Linked DNA regions of Homo sapiens: all the other regions are linked to region 2. Evidence: promoter capture Hi-C in 16 types of primary human blood cells and fetal thymus (Javierre and others, 2016). All regions are on one chromosome and are shown on one strand. The core of a region is centred on a gene start or on the middle of the fragment in contact, and the rest is flanking DNA. Distances in the headings are between cores, read along the strand shown.

What was found. Contacts are between HindIII fragments. The CHiCAGO score rates a contact against its expected background, and 5 or more counts as called.
Region 1: a contact is called between a fragment that was not itself captured here and the fragment with the promoter of ITGAX in region 2, in 1 of 17 cell types (total B cells). The highest score is 6.1, in total B cells.
Region 3: a contact is called between a fragment that was not itself captured here and the fragment with the promoter of ITGAX in region 2, in 2 of 17 cell types (monocytes and total CD8 T cells). The highest score is 6.2, in monocytes.

Annotation. Positions count from the first base shown.
Region 1 is chr16:31,855,384-31,859,796 of GRCh38, forward strand. No RefSeq gene overlaps it. Among named protein-coding and RNA genes, the nearest start is that of ZNF267, 16 kb to the right of the region's middle. RefSeq lists a silencer at 4,101-4,190. The HindIII fragment of the contact is 526 bases long and covers 1,640-2,165 here.
Region 2 is chr16:31,353,917-31,358,047 of GRCh38, forward strand. ITGAX (integrin subunit alpha X) reads left to right here and starts at 1,260. Exons shown (of 30, transcript NM_000887.5): 1 at 1,260-1,375; 2 at 1,977-2,082; 3 at 2,709-2,812; 4 at 3,115-3,185; 5 at 3,337-3,448. The coding sequence starts at 1,339. RefSeq lists enhancers at 522-651, 842-1,031. The HindIII fragment of the contact is 18,983 bases long and covers 1-4,131 here.
Region 3 is chr16:30,968,689-30,973,114 of GRCh38, forward strand. It overlaps SETD1A (SET domain containing 1A, histone lysine methyltransferase), which reads left to right. Exons shown (of 19, transcript NM_014712.3): 11 at 617-774; 12 at 914-1,001; 13 at 2,690-3,031. Among named protein-coding and RNA genes, the nearest start is that of SETD1A, 13 kb to the left of the region's middle. The HindIII fragment of the contact is 6,620 bases long and covers 1-4,426 here.

The DNA.
Region 1 (4,413 bases), core at 653-3,152, 500 kb after region 2:
TAAAGACGTTCCCAGACAAGCAAAAACTGAAGAAATTCATCACCACTAGACAAGCCCTGGAAGATTACCTAGACAGAAAATCAATAATGAAACATCAGATTTAAACTGTACTTTAGACCAGGGGTCCCCAACCGTCGGGTCACAGACCAATACCCACCCCTGGCTTGTTAGGAACCAGGAAGCTCAGCAGGAGGTGAGTGGCAGGTGAGCCAGTGAAGCTGAGCTCTACCTCCTGTCAGATCAGCAGCAGCATTAGATTGTCATAGGAGCTCAAACCCTATTGTGAACTGCACATGCCAGTGATCCAGGCTGTATGCTCCTTATGAGAATCTAATGATAAATGTAATGCACTTAAATTATCCTGAAATCATCCCCCTCCCCTAGTCCTAGGAAAAATTGTCTTCCACGAAACCAGTTCCTGGTGCCAAAAAGGTTAGGCACCGTTGCTTTAGACCAAAGGAACCTAACAGACATCTGCAGAACACTTGATCCAATGACTGCAAAACATACATTCTTCTCAGAAGCACATGGAACAGTCTTCAGGATAGACCCTCTGTTAGGCCAGAAAACGAGTCTTAACAAATGTTTAAAAATTGAAATCATATCAAGTATTTTCTCATACTACAGTGAAATAAAGCCAAAAATCAGTAGCAAAAGGAACTTTGAAAACTGTACAAATACATGAAAATTAAATGACATGCTCCAGAACAACCATTGGGTTAATACAGAAATCCAAACAAATATTTAAAAAATGAAGATGAAAACACAATATTTTGGAAACTATGAAATGCAGCAAAAGCAGTGTTGAGGGAAGTTTACAGCAGTAAATACCTACATCAAAAAAGTAGAAATATTTACAGTAAACAACCTAATGATACACCTCAAGAAACCAAAAAAGCAAGAACAAACTAAGCTCAACATAAGCATAAGGAATAATAAAAATCAGTCAAGGTGCAGTGGCTCATGCCTGTAGTCCAGCACTTTGGGAGACTGAGACAGCTGGATCACCTGAGGTCACGAGTTTGAGACCAGCCTGGCCAACGTGGTGAAACCTCTTCTCTACTAAAAAATACAAAAATTAGCCAGGTGTGGTGGAGTACACCTGTAATCCCAACTACTCAGGGGGCTGAGGCAGGAGAATTGCTTGAACCCAGGAGGCAGAGGCTGCAGTGAGCCGAGATGGCACCACTGCAGTCCAACCTGGGCAACAGAGTAAGACTCCGTCTTAAAACAAAACAAAACAAACAAACAAACAAAGAAATAATAAAAATCGGAGAAGTAAGCAAACTAGAAACTTAAAAAAATACAAAGGGCCAATGAAATAAAACTTTTTTTGAAAACATGAAACAACATTCATAAACCACTAGCTAGACAAAAAATAGAGAAAAGACCCAAATAAACAATGTCAGAAATGAAAAAGCAGACATTTCAACTGATACTGCAGAAAGAAGTATGAAAGATAATCAGAGACTCCTAAGAACAATTGCATGATAACAAACTGGAAAAATTAGAGAAAATATCTAAATTCCTGGACACATACAAACTATCACTATTGAATCAGGGAGAAATAGAAGACCCAAACAAACCAATAATGAGAAATGAGATTGATACAGTAATAAAATGTCTCTCTGCAAATAAAAGCTTGGGGCTTGATAACTTGACAGCTGAATTCTACCAAACTTATAAAGAAGAACTAATATCAATTTTTCTCAAAGTATTCAAAAAATAGAAGGGGGGGGAATTCTTTGTAACTCATTCTATGAAGCAAGCATTACCCTGATATGAAAACAATACAAGGATACAATGAAAACAGAAAGCTACAGTTTAATATGATGAATAAAGATGTTAAAATCTTCAACAAAATACTAGCAAACTGAATGCAACAGCACATCAAAAAGATAACATGCCACAATCAAGTAGGATTTATCCCAGGGATGGAAGGATGGATTTCCACACACAAACCCATAAACACAATACATCACATTAACAGAATGAAATACAAAAACCATACAATCATCTCAATAGATGCAGAAAGAGCATTTGACAAAATTTAACATCTTTTCATGATAGAAACGCTCAACAAACTAGGCCTACAGGAACATACCTCAACTTAATAAAGGCCATATATGACAAATCCACAGGTAACATTATACTAAATAAGGAAAAGCTTAAATCTTTTCTGCTAGGGACTAGAACTAAACAACGATGTTCATTTTCACTATTTCTATTCAACAAAGTACTGGAAGTCCTAGCCGAAGTAATCAGGCAAGAGAAAGAAATAAAAGGCATCTAAATAGGAAAAGTGAAAGTTTAATTGTTGCTTTGTGCAAATGACATGATCTTATATTTAGAAGAACATAAAGATGCCACCAAAAAACTATTAGATTTGATAAATATGATCAGCAAAGTTGCAGGACACAAAATCAACATACAGAAATCAGGAGCATTTCTACATAATAAGTAAGTGGCTGAAACAGAAGTCAAGGAAGCCATCTCATTTACAATAGCTACAAAATATTAAAATACCTAGTAATAAATTTAGCTGTGGTGGTGAAAGACTTCTACAAGGAGAACTAAAAAACACTGATGTAAGATACTGAAGAGTACATAAAAAAATGAAAGGACATTGCATGCCCATAGATTCCATGCCCATAATTTTTTTGTCTAGCTAGTGGTTTAGCCCATAGATCAGAAGAATTAATATTGTTAAAATGACCAAAGCAGTCTACAGATTCAATGCAATCACTATCAAAATGCCAACTTTTTCACACACAAAAGAAGTCTAAAATGTGTATGGAACCAACAAAGAGCCTGGAGTCAAAGCAATCCTGAGCAAAAGAACAAAGCTGAAGACATTGTACCACCTGACTTCAAAATATCATACAAGGTCAGAGCAACCCCAAAAGCATAGTGTTGGTATAAAAATAGACACAGAGACCAATAGAGCAGAATAGAGAATTCAGAAAAAAACCACATATTTACAAGTAACTGACTTTCAACAATGGCACTAAGAACATACGTTGGGAGAAGGATACCCTCTTCAATAAATGGTATTGAAAAAACTGGATAGCTATATGCATAAGCTATTCAATTCATTTGAAGCTAGACTTCTATCAGTATATATATATATATATATATATATATCAGTATATATATATACTGATAGAAGTCTAGCTTCAAATATATATATTTATATATATATATCTCAACTCAAAAAATATATATGATATATGATATATATATCATCTCAAAATAAAAGATTGAAACACAAACCCATAACTATAACACTACTAGAATAAAACATAAGAGAAACCCTCCTGAACATTGATCTAGCCAGATATTTTATGGCTAAGACCACAAAATCACAAGCAACAAACAAATACTAGAAAATGGGACCATATTGAACTACAGAGCTTCTGCACAGCAAAGGAAGCAATCAACAGTGATGAGACAATTTGTTGAATGGGAGAAAATATTTGCAAATTATTCATGTGACACTATCAGTTATATAACTAAAAGATAGGAAAACCTATGTGTACACAAAGGCTCCCTGCAGCACTATTCATGATAGCTGAATGGGTAAACAACCGAAATATCAACCAGTGAGAATAAGGAAAAACAATACACCATGGAACACTACATAGCCGTAAAAAAGAATGAGTTCATGTCCTTTGCAGGGACATAGATGAAGCTGGAAACCATCATCCTCAGCAAACTAACACAGGAACAGAAAACCAAACACCGTATGTTCTCACTCATAAGTGGGAATTGAGCAATGAGAACTCATGGACACAGGGAGGGGAACATCACACACCAGGGCCTGTCAGGGGGTTGGGGGCAAGAATAGGGAAAGCGTTAGAATAAATACTGTGGGAGGCAAGCCACCCAGGTGCCAAGGCAGGAGACCGAAGGCACAAGTTGTTCCAGTATAATAAAGAAAATAATTAGAATAAGAATAGTTATATTAGAAATAGAATATAGACATGATTATATATGAATATTATTAATCATTAGTTTGTAGCATTACTCTTTTATTAATAACTTCTGTCCTACAATTATAACTTAGAAAAACCAGTCCATACAGAGTCAGGAGCTGAAGGGACATGATGAGAAGAAGTGACCAGAAGGCGAGTGTGAGCCCTCTGTCACGCCTGCACAGGGCCACTAGAGGGCTCCTTGGTCTAGCGGTAACGCCAGTACCTGAGAAAGCACCTGTTACTTAGCAGACCTTGGTCTAGCGGTAGCGCCAGTGCCTGGGAAGGCAGGCAAACTTTACTTAGCAGACCGGGAAAGGGAGTCTCCCTTTCCCTGGGGGATTTAGAGAACACTCTGCTATACCACCTCTTGTGGAAGGCCTGACAGCAGTCAGGCCCTCCCGCAGCCATACGAAGGCCTAAACATCTCCCTGTGATG
Region 2 (4,131 bases), core at 10-2,509:
AACCCACTTTCTAAAATGAAAATGTGAAGATCTCAGTCCCCATGAATTCCCTTCAATGCTGTCCTCCACTCTCAGGACAAAATCAATGTGTCTTCACCAGGTGTGGTGGCTCACACCTGTGATCCCAGCAATTTAGGAGGCTGAGGCAGGAGGATTGATTGAGATCAGGAGTTTGAGACCAGCCTGGCCAACATGGGGAAACTCTGTCTCTACTAAAATTAAAAAATATATATATATAAATATATATATATATTCAGGTGCAGTGGTGCAATCCTATAGTCCTGGCTACTCAGGAGGCTGAGGCAGGAGGATCCCTTGGGCCCAGGAGTTCGAAGCAGCAGTGAACTATGCACCCACTGCACTCCAGCCTGGGTGGCAGAGCAAGACCCTGTTTCTGAAATTAAAAAAAAAAATTGATGTACATTAGGGGGGCTTCCACGGCCTGAGGCCTGCTTCCCCTTGCTTTCCTCCCAGTGGCCCTGACCTTGTCTCTTACAACTTCCCACCCTGACTGTCTGGTTCCCATTGCTGATTTCACACACAGACCCTCCTGTCCCCTGCCTCATCCATGTCTGGCTGCTCTGTCATCTCCCAACTTTGGTTGCTTTCAATGCTCAGCTCAAGCACCACCTCTTTCAGGAAGCCTTCTCAGAAAGCCACACCTTCACAACCCGGGTGAGGCACCCTGTGGTCTCTGTGCTTCCCCCTCACAGCAATGAACTTGCTGTTTATACATCTGCCTCTCCACTGACCCCAGGGCTGGTGCTTTGTGGTTTATATTTTCTTCCCCACCTAGCAGAGGGCTTGCATCTCCAGGCTCAAATTAGGCTTCTTGAATAAATGATGAATAAATGAGTGAATGAATGAATGAACAAATACTCGCTCTGTGCTCCTCCTAGGGACCCGGATGCCCCACTCCTTGGCCCAGACTTTCCAGGTCAGAGTGGAGGGCTCCCACCAGGGTTTCCTTTAGGGTCCTGAGGGGTTGGCATCTGCCCAAACCCCCTCCAGTCTGGCTGAAATTTCAAGGTCAAGGGGTGCCTTCTGGCAGTCAAGGGTGAGCCTGGGAGGGGCAGGGCAGGGATTTGCATCCATCTAAGCAAAGGGCATCAAGCCAAGTCATCTGATGAGAGTGACTCCGGTTGGGGGGTGGGGGCGTGTGGGAGGCCGAGCCTGTCCTCGGATCAGTTGCGTACTCTGCCCGCCCCCTCTGACTCATGCTGACAATCTTCTTCCTTCCCCTGGCCACCTCTCTGCCCACTTGCTTCCTCAGTACCTTGGTCCAGCTCTTCCTGCAACGGCCCAGGAGCTCAGAGCTCCACATCTGACCTTCTAGTCATGACCAGGACCAGGGCAGCACTCCTCCTGTTCACAGGTGAGCCTGGACCCCAATGAAGTAGGGCTGGGGACCCAGGCCCAAGGGAGCCAGGGCCCTGAACTGGGGGCTCAGGCTGGGGGGTTAGGATCTGGGTAGGAAGAGAGACTCAGTCAAGCCTGAGGGGGAGGCAGGCACATAGGGTCTGAGATTTGGAGTTTGTGGAGGGAGAGGATATTGATGAACCAATTTTGGGAGAGTTCCAGAGATGCTGGAAGAGAGGCCAGTTGTCTCTGTACTGCAGAGATTTTTAAAATAGGCAGAATGCGCCAACTTGTGCTCTGTGGACAGGATGCTTTGGTCCGCAAGTTTTCCTGGACTCACTCTCATAGCGCCCGAGGTGCACGTTGGGGAAAGATCCTTTTTAGAGCCTGGGTACTGCTCTGCAGAAATGGAGAACTGCAACTCGATAGTGGATGGTGGGCAAGGGGCATCCCTGGACCCTGGGAAGGAGAGAAGGGGATGAGTTGGGTGTCCAGAAGACCCAGGCACCCCGGGCATCAGGCTCGGAGGGGAGATTGGGACGCTGGGGCCGGGGGTGGAGGGCAGCCAGGCAGAAGGAAGACCCTTCTCCAAAGCTCTCTTCCCACCTCTTTCCCAGCCTTAGCAACTTCTCTAGGTTTCAACTTGGACACAGAGGAGCTGACAGCCTTCCGTGTGGACAGCGCTGGGTTTGGAGACAGCGTGGTCCAGTATGCCAACTCCTGGTGAGGCCCAGGTGGTGCTGGCCTTTGGCTCCATCCATCCTCTCCCTGCTCAGGGCCCCATGCCCCCGGCCCTGCCCTGTTATTTGCAAACTCTCCTCTCTGTCTGGTGTAGCGACTGCCCTGGCTAATGAAGATTTGCCTTGAAGGCAGGCACGGTCTCACAGCTAACATTTACAGAGCAGTAAGTGCAGTGCCAGGCTCATCACAGGTGGATGCTGATTTAGTCCACACGACAGCCTGTGAGTAGGAATCAGTCGTGCAACAAACACTTATTTGTTTTTTCTTTCTTTTTTTCTATACATTTAAAAATATATAGAGACAGGGTCTCACTATGTTGCCTGGGTTGGTCTCAAACTCCTGGGCTCAAGCAATCCTCCCGCCTCAGCCTCCCAAAGTGCTGGGATTCCAGGTGTGAGCCACCACACCCAGACTCAACAAATATTTCTTGTCTCCATACGCCAGAGAATCCAACAGACAGAAATCCCTTCCACATGGACTTTAAATTATTAAAATCCATCTTGCAGATGAGGAAGCTGAGGCTCAGGGAGGGAACGCAAACTTGCCGGAGTGGCAGCTGTGCTGCAGCGTCCACACTCTTACCTAAAGTGTTCTTTGTCTCCTCGCAGGGTGGTGGTTGGAGCCCCCCAAAAGATAACAGCTGCCAACCAAACGGGTGGCCTCTACCAGTGTGGCTACAGCACTGGTGCCTGTGAGCCCATCGGCCTGCAGGGTGAGTCACCGCCCCTCCCGGGACCCAGGGCCGGGCTCCCAGGCTTCCCTGCTCCAGGGGCCCGTGGACTCACCGGAGTGTCACTTTCAGCTTCCACTGTGTCTGAGACCCTCACCCTCAGATATGCTTCCTGGCCCCTTAAGGCCTCCCCGCCCATCGCACTCCCGCAGCTCTGTCAAGACCCGACAGCTTCCTTCACCGTCAGACCTCCTTGTCTCCCAGGTGGAGGTGACCCCTGCCCAGCTCTTCCACAGCCTTCTCTGTACCCCCGAGAGTGACCATGCACATATCTGTCCCCACAGTGCCCCCGGAGGCCGTGAACATGTCCCTGGGCCTGTCCCTGGCGTCTACCACCAGCCCTTCCCAGCTGCTGGTGAGTGGCCCTGGGTCACAGGAGGCTTCTGAGGGAGGGAGGGAGGAGCCGGGGCCGCGGGGGGCTGGGAGTCTCCTGTAGGGTGGAGGTTCCGGAATGTGAGGGTGGGAGGAAGCAGGGGCAGCCCCCCAGCAGCCCGCTGTGTCCCCAGGCCTGCGGCCCCACCGTGCACCACGAGTGCGGGAGGAACATGTACCTCACCGGACTCTGCTTCCTCCTGGGCCCCACCCAGCTCACCCAGAGGCTCCCGGTGTCCAGGCAGGGTGAGTGTCGGGACCACCAAGGCTTTGAGGAGCTCACGCACATCCAATTGGGGGTGCGGTGGGCTAGAGACAGTCTTGCCAGAGTGGATCAGAAAGAAGGGATCTGGAAAAAGAGTTACCACGTGTTGCAGTGGTTCCTGACGCTGCTGCCCGCACATCCTGCCGATCGCCCGCACGCTGCCGGACCTTTCCTGTGACCTTAACCTCTCCAAGCCTCAGTTTCTTCATCTGTTGGATGGGGATAATAACACACCCAGCACTGAAAGCAACACAGGATGATTCATGGCCAGGGGTTAGCACAGCAGCTAGCACCAGGCGACAGCCCCATGAAGGCCAGCTGTTGTTATTTTTAGAGGAGAGGATCTATTTTCATCCAATGGGTCCTGGGATATGACCAATTGGTTTGTGCCGTAGTTTAGGAAAGGTCAGTGAAAGTGCAGTGTGAGCAACGTGTGTGTGTGTACATGTGTGTATATGTATGCATGTGTATACATGTGCACATGCACACATGTACATGCATGTGTGTGCATGTATGTGTGTGTGCGTGTGCACATGCAGGTTGAGACGCAGGGCCTGACTTCCCTGGTGCTGATGGGGAAGAAAGATAAGGAAGCAAAACAGTGGGCTTTGGCAGGCTGAGGCCTCCCCCTGGTTTCACATTTGCTCTCAAGCCTTTGGTGAGA
Region 3 (4,426 bases), core at 20-2,519, 390 kb before region 2:
TACTTGGGAGACTGAGGCAGGAGAATTGCTTGAACCCGGGAGGCAGAGGCTGCTGTGAGCTGAGATTGTGCCACTGCACTCCAGCCTGGCGACAAAGCGAGACTCCGTCTCAAAAAAAAAAATATATATATATATGCCAGGCACGATGGCTCACGCCTATAATCCCAGCACTCCAGGAGGCTGAGGCAGGAGGATCACTTGAACCCAGGAGTTCAATACCAGCCTGAGCAACATAGGTAGACCCTGTCTCTACAAAAATTTTTAAAAATTAGCTGGGTATGATTGCATGCCCCTGTATAGTCCCAGTTACTCAGGAGACCGAGGCAGGAGGATCGCTTGAGCCCAGCAGGTTGAGGCTGCAGTGAGCTGTGGTCATGCCACTGCACCCCAGCCTGAGTGACAGAGCAAGACCCCGTCCCAAAAACAAAAACAAATACAAAACTATGAAACATGAGGTAACTGAGGTGTTTGAGTTCCTCTGGTGAGCTTCCAAATTCTCATCTGTGAAATGAAGACCATCAGGAAGATTGGTAATAGTATATGTAAAGCCCCTTGCACAGGGCAAGTATCTTGTGGTTGATGGTAAATTTCCCCAACTACCACTCTGCTGGCCTAGACCCTGAACAAGAGAAGGAGGCTGGAGAGCCAGGACGTCCGGGGACCAAGCCCCCGAAGCGGGACGAAGAGCGAGGCAAGACCCAGGGCAAGCACCGCAAGTCCTTTGCTCTGGACAGCGAAGGGGAGGAGGCATCCCAGGAGTCCTCCTCGGAGAAGGTGAGGGCCCGGGCGCCGGCTCCTGGCCGAAGCCTACTTCCCATAGCCAGCATCTTTGTGGTTGGAGCCCAGGCAGCTGTGCCTGGTGTAGGACCAGTTGTCCCCTTCCTGTTAGTCCTCATTTGTCTTTTTTCTTAAGGATGAGGAGGATGACGAGGAAGATGAGGAAGATGAAGATCGAGAGGAAGCTGTGGATACCACAAAGAAGGAGACAGAGGTGTCGGATGGTGAGCACAAGACAGTGAAATCGACTTTGGGCTCGGAGGAGGGGTTCGGCTGCCTGGCTAGCCCTTTTCTGAGCCCACATGACCTTCCTGCTGGGCTTGTGGGTCACCTTTGCCTTCTGCAAGGGCATCTGTTTGGGCCACATTCTTAGGAACCCTTGGCCCCTTGACAGCAATAAGCTCAGTGCTCAAAATGCTCCCTCCTGCTCCCTCTTCTGCTGAGACATAGCTGTCCAAAAGGACAGCCTGGCAGAACGCTTTTTTTGTTTTGTTTTTTGTTGTTGTTGTTGTTGTTGTTTTGAGAGAGTTTCGCTCTTGTCGCCCAGGCTGGAGTGCAATGGCGCAATCTCGGCTCACTGCAACCTCCGCCTCCTGAGTTCAAGAGATTCTCCTGCCTCAGCCTCCGTTGTAGCTGGGATTACAGGCACCCACCACCACCCCCAGCTAATTTTTTGTATTTTTAGTAGAGACAGGGTTTCACTATGTTGGCCAGACTGGTCTTGAACTCCTGAGCTCAGGCGATCCACCCACCTCAGCCTCTGGAAGTGCTGGGATTACAGGCGTGAGCCACCACACCCAGATTTTTTTTTTTTTTTTTTGAGACAGAGTCTCGCTTTGTCACCCAGGCTGGAGTGCAGTGATGTGATCTTGGCTCACTGCAACCTCCGCCTCCCTGGTTCCAGCGATTTTCCTGCCTCAGCCTCCCAAAGCGCTGGGATTACAGGTGTGAGCCACCACACCTGGCTAATTTTTGTATTTTTAGCAGAGATGGGGTTTTACCATGTTGGCCAGGCTGGTCCCAAACTCATGACCTCAAGTGATCCACCCACCTCGGCCTCCCAAAGTGCTAGGCTTTCACCTGTGAGCCACTGCACGCAGCCTCTTGCAGCAGTCTTGACTGATTTCCCTGTCTCTCTTTCTGTCCTTCTCCCTCTGTTCCAGTCCATTTTCCAAACTGCTTATAGAATCTCTTTCCTAAAATGCACTCCTGACCCTGTGACTTCCCTCCATAAGGTCCTTCCTGGCAACTTGTTCTCCACAGGGTGTCCCCCCAGGCCAACACCATGGGCCGTTTATCTCCTGGCCCTGCTCTGTTCAGCTCCATCTCGCCCTCCTCCAGTCCGCTCCCCAGCTGCCACCACCTTCTAGTCTAACTTATCCAATTCTGTTCCTCAAAAACTGTGAAATTCTTCAGTTTTTTCGAGTCCTTCCCGTACATGAGCAGTCTCAGAATATAGAGCCTGTCGTGTTTTTTAACCTTTTCAGCCCAGAATCCTTTTTCACCCAATCCTTCGTCCAGACTGGGTCCTGAGACCCACTTTAGGAAGGTTTGAGTGCCAGAGCAGCCTGCTTCCCAGTCTCCAAGCCTCCACTTCCTCTTGCTTCCGACATCCCTGTGCAGTCCCCATGTCTGTGTGGTGGACTCCTTGTCCTTGAGTTCAGCTTGTCCCCTGGGATGCTTTCCTTTTCGGGCCTCTTCAGACAGAGTCTGGGGCTTCCTTTGCCATCCTCCCCGCATGCTGATGTTTATCTCACAGTGAAAATGGTTTGCTTATGCAGCTCCTTGGTCTGTTGGACTTCCCCGTCCCTAGCCCAGAGCCCAGCATCCACAGCAGGGAGTGAGTGAGGAGCCCACGGCTGGCCAAGTGAGGTCTGCCCACCTCTCCTGACTGCCCCTTCTGGATTTCCAGGCGAGGACGAGGAAAGCGATTCGTCTTCCAAATGTTCTCTGTATGCTGACTCAGATGGCGAAAATGACAGCACATCAGACTCCGAGAGCAGCAGCTCTTCCAGCTCCTCATCCTCCTCCTCCTCCTCGTCCTCATCCTCCTCGTCCTCTTCATCCTCTGAGTCCTCCTCTGAAGATGAAGAGGAAGAGGAGCGGCCAGCAGCCCTTCCCTCAGCCTCCCCGCCCCCCAGAGAAGTCCCAGTGCCCACGCCAGCACCTGTGGAGGTGCCAGTGCCGGAAAGGGTTGCAGGCTCCCCAGTCACACCCCTGCCCGAACAGGAGGCGTCTCCAGCAAGGCCTGCAGGTAGGTGCCACAGGGCTGTCGGTTAGATCGCTGTGTGTGTGAGAGAGAGAGAGAAAACAGTGGTGCTTGCATTTATTGTGTACAAGTGTGTGACTTTATTAGAAAAACATACAAAGAAAATGTCACCATCTCCTGTCACTACCTTCTAGAGACATTGATTGTCTGACACACTTCAAACTGTACCGTCATGGTGGTTTACAGAACCCCAGGCTAAGCTGCATACTAAAGTAAAATGGGTTGGTCTCTTCTCAAGTAAATTAAGGAGAAAGTGCCCAGTTGAATAAGTTCTTCCTCCTAATTTTTCTTAAGCCTGTTCTTCAGTGAGTAGTGAACAAGTGCAGGTTATTAAATGGGCAAATAGGTAGAAAACAAGTATTAACATAACACAGAACTTGGTCCTAGCTGCTTTTCTTTGTTCATTTGTACGTCTAGTTGTTATACTCTAGCACATTCGCATAGCTTAGCCTGCTGAGGGAACCGCTCTTTCAAGCAGTAGATATTTTTTTGAGTGCTCATCGCAGCCAAACAGTAGGTGCAGGGGATGGGTTGCTGAGCCTCACAGGCAGTGTTCTCACTCTCATCATGCTTACAGTCTACAGGGAAAGACATCTTCATTGAGTAAGAAATACATAGGAGGCCGGGCGCGGTGGCTTACGCCTGTAATCCCAGCACTTTGGGAGGCCAAGGCGGGTGGATCATGAGGTCAGGAGATCGAGACCATCCTGGCTAACATGGTTGAAACCCCATCTCTACTAAAAAATACAAAAAATTAGCCAGGTATGGTGACAGGCACCTGTAGTGCCAGCTACTCAGGAGGCTGAGGCAGGAGAATGGCGTGAACCCAGGAGGCAGAGGCTTGCAGTGAGCCGAGATCGCACCACTACACTCCAGCCTGGGCGACAGAGCGAGACTCTGTCTCAAAAAAAAAAAAAAAGACCAGCCTGGGCAACATGATGAAACCCTGTCTCTACAAAAATTACAAAAACTAGCTAGGCGTGGTGGCGCACACCTGTGATCCCAGCTGCTCGGGAGGCTGAGGTGGGAGGATCACTTGAGCCCAGGAGGCAGAGGTTGTAGTGAGCCAAGATCACACCACTGCACTCCAGCCTGGGTGGCAGAGCGAGACCCTGTCTCAAAAAAAAAAAAAGAGAGAATACCTAGGAAAACCTGTGGTTACGAACCATGAGAAGCACCAGGAAGAGGCACAGGGCAGCCAGCCGGAGCACATCTGCAGGAGGAGGAAGGCTTCCTGCTGAGGTACTGCTGGGCTGAAGTCTGGGCAAAGCAGGCAGCACGGCTGGCTTAGCGTGTGCAAAGGCCCTCCAGCAGGGGAAGCAGCGGGTTGGAAGACTGGAAGAAAGCCGACCCTTCAGAGGGTTGAGCACAAGGGGGCAC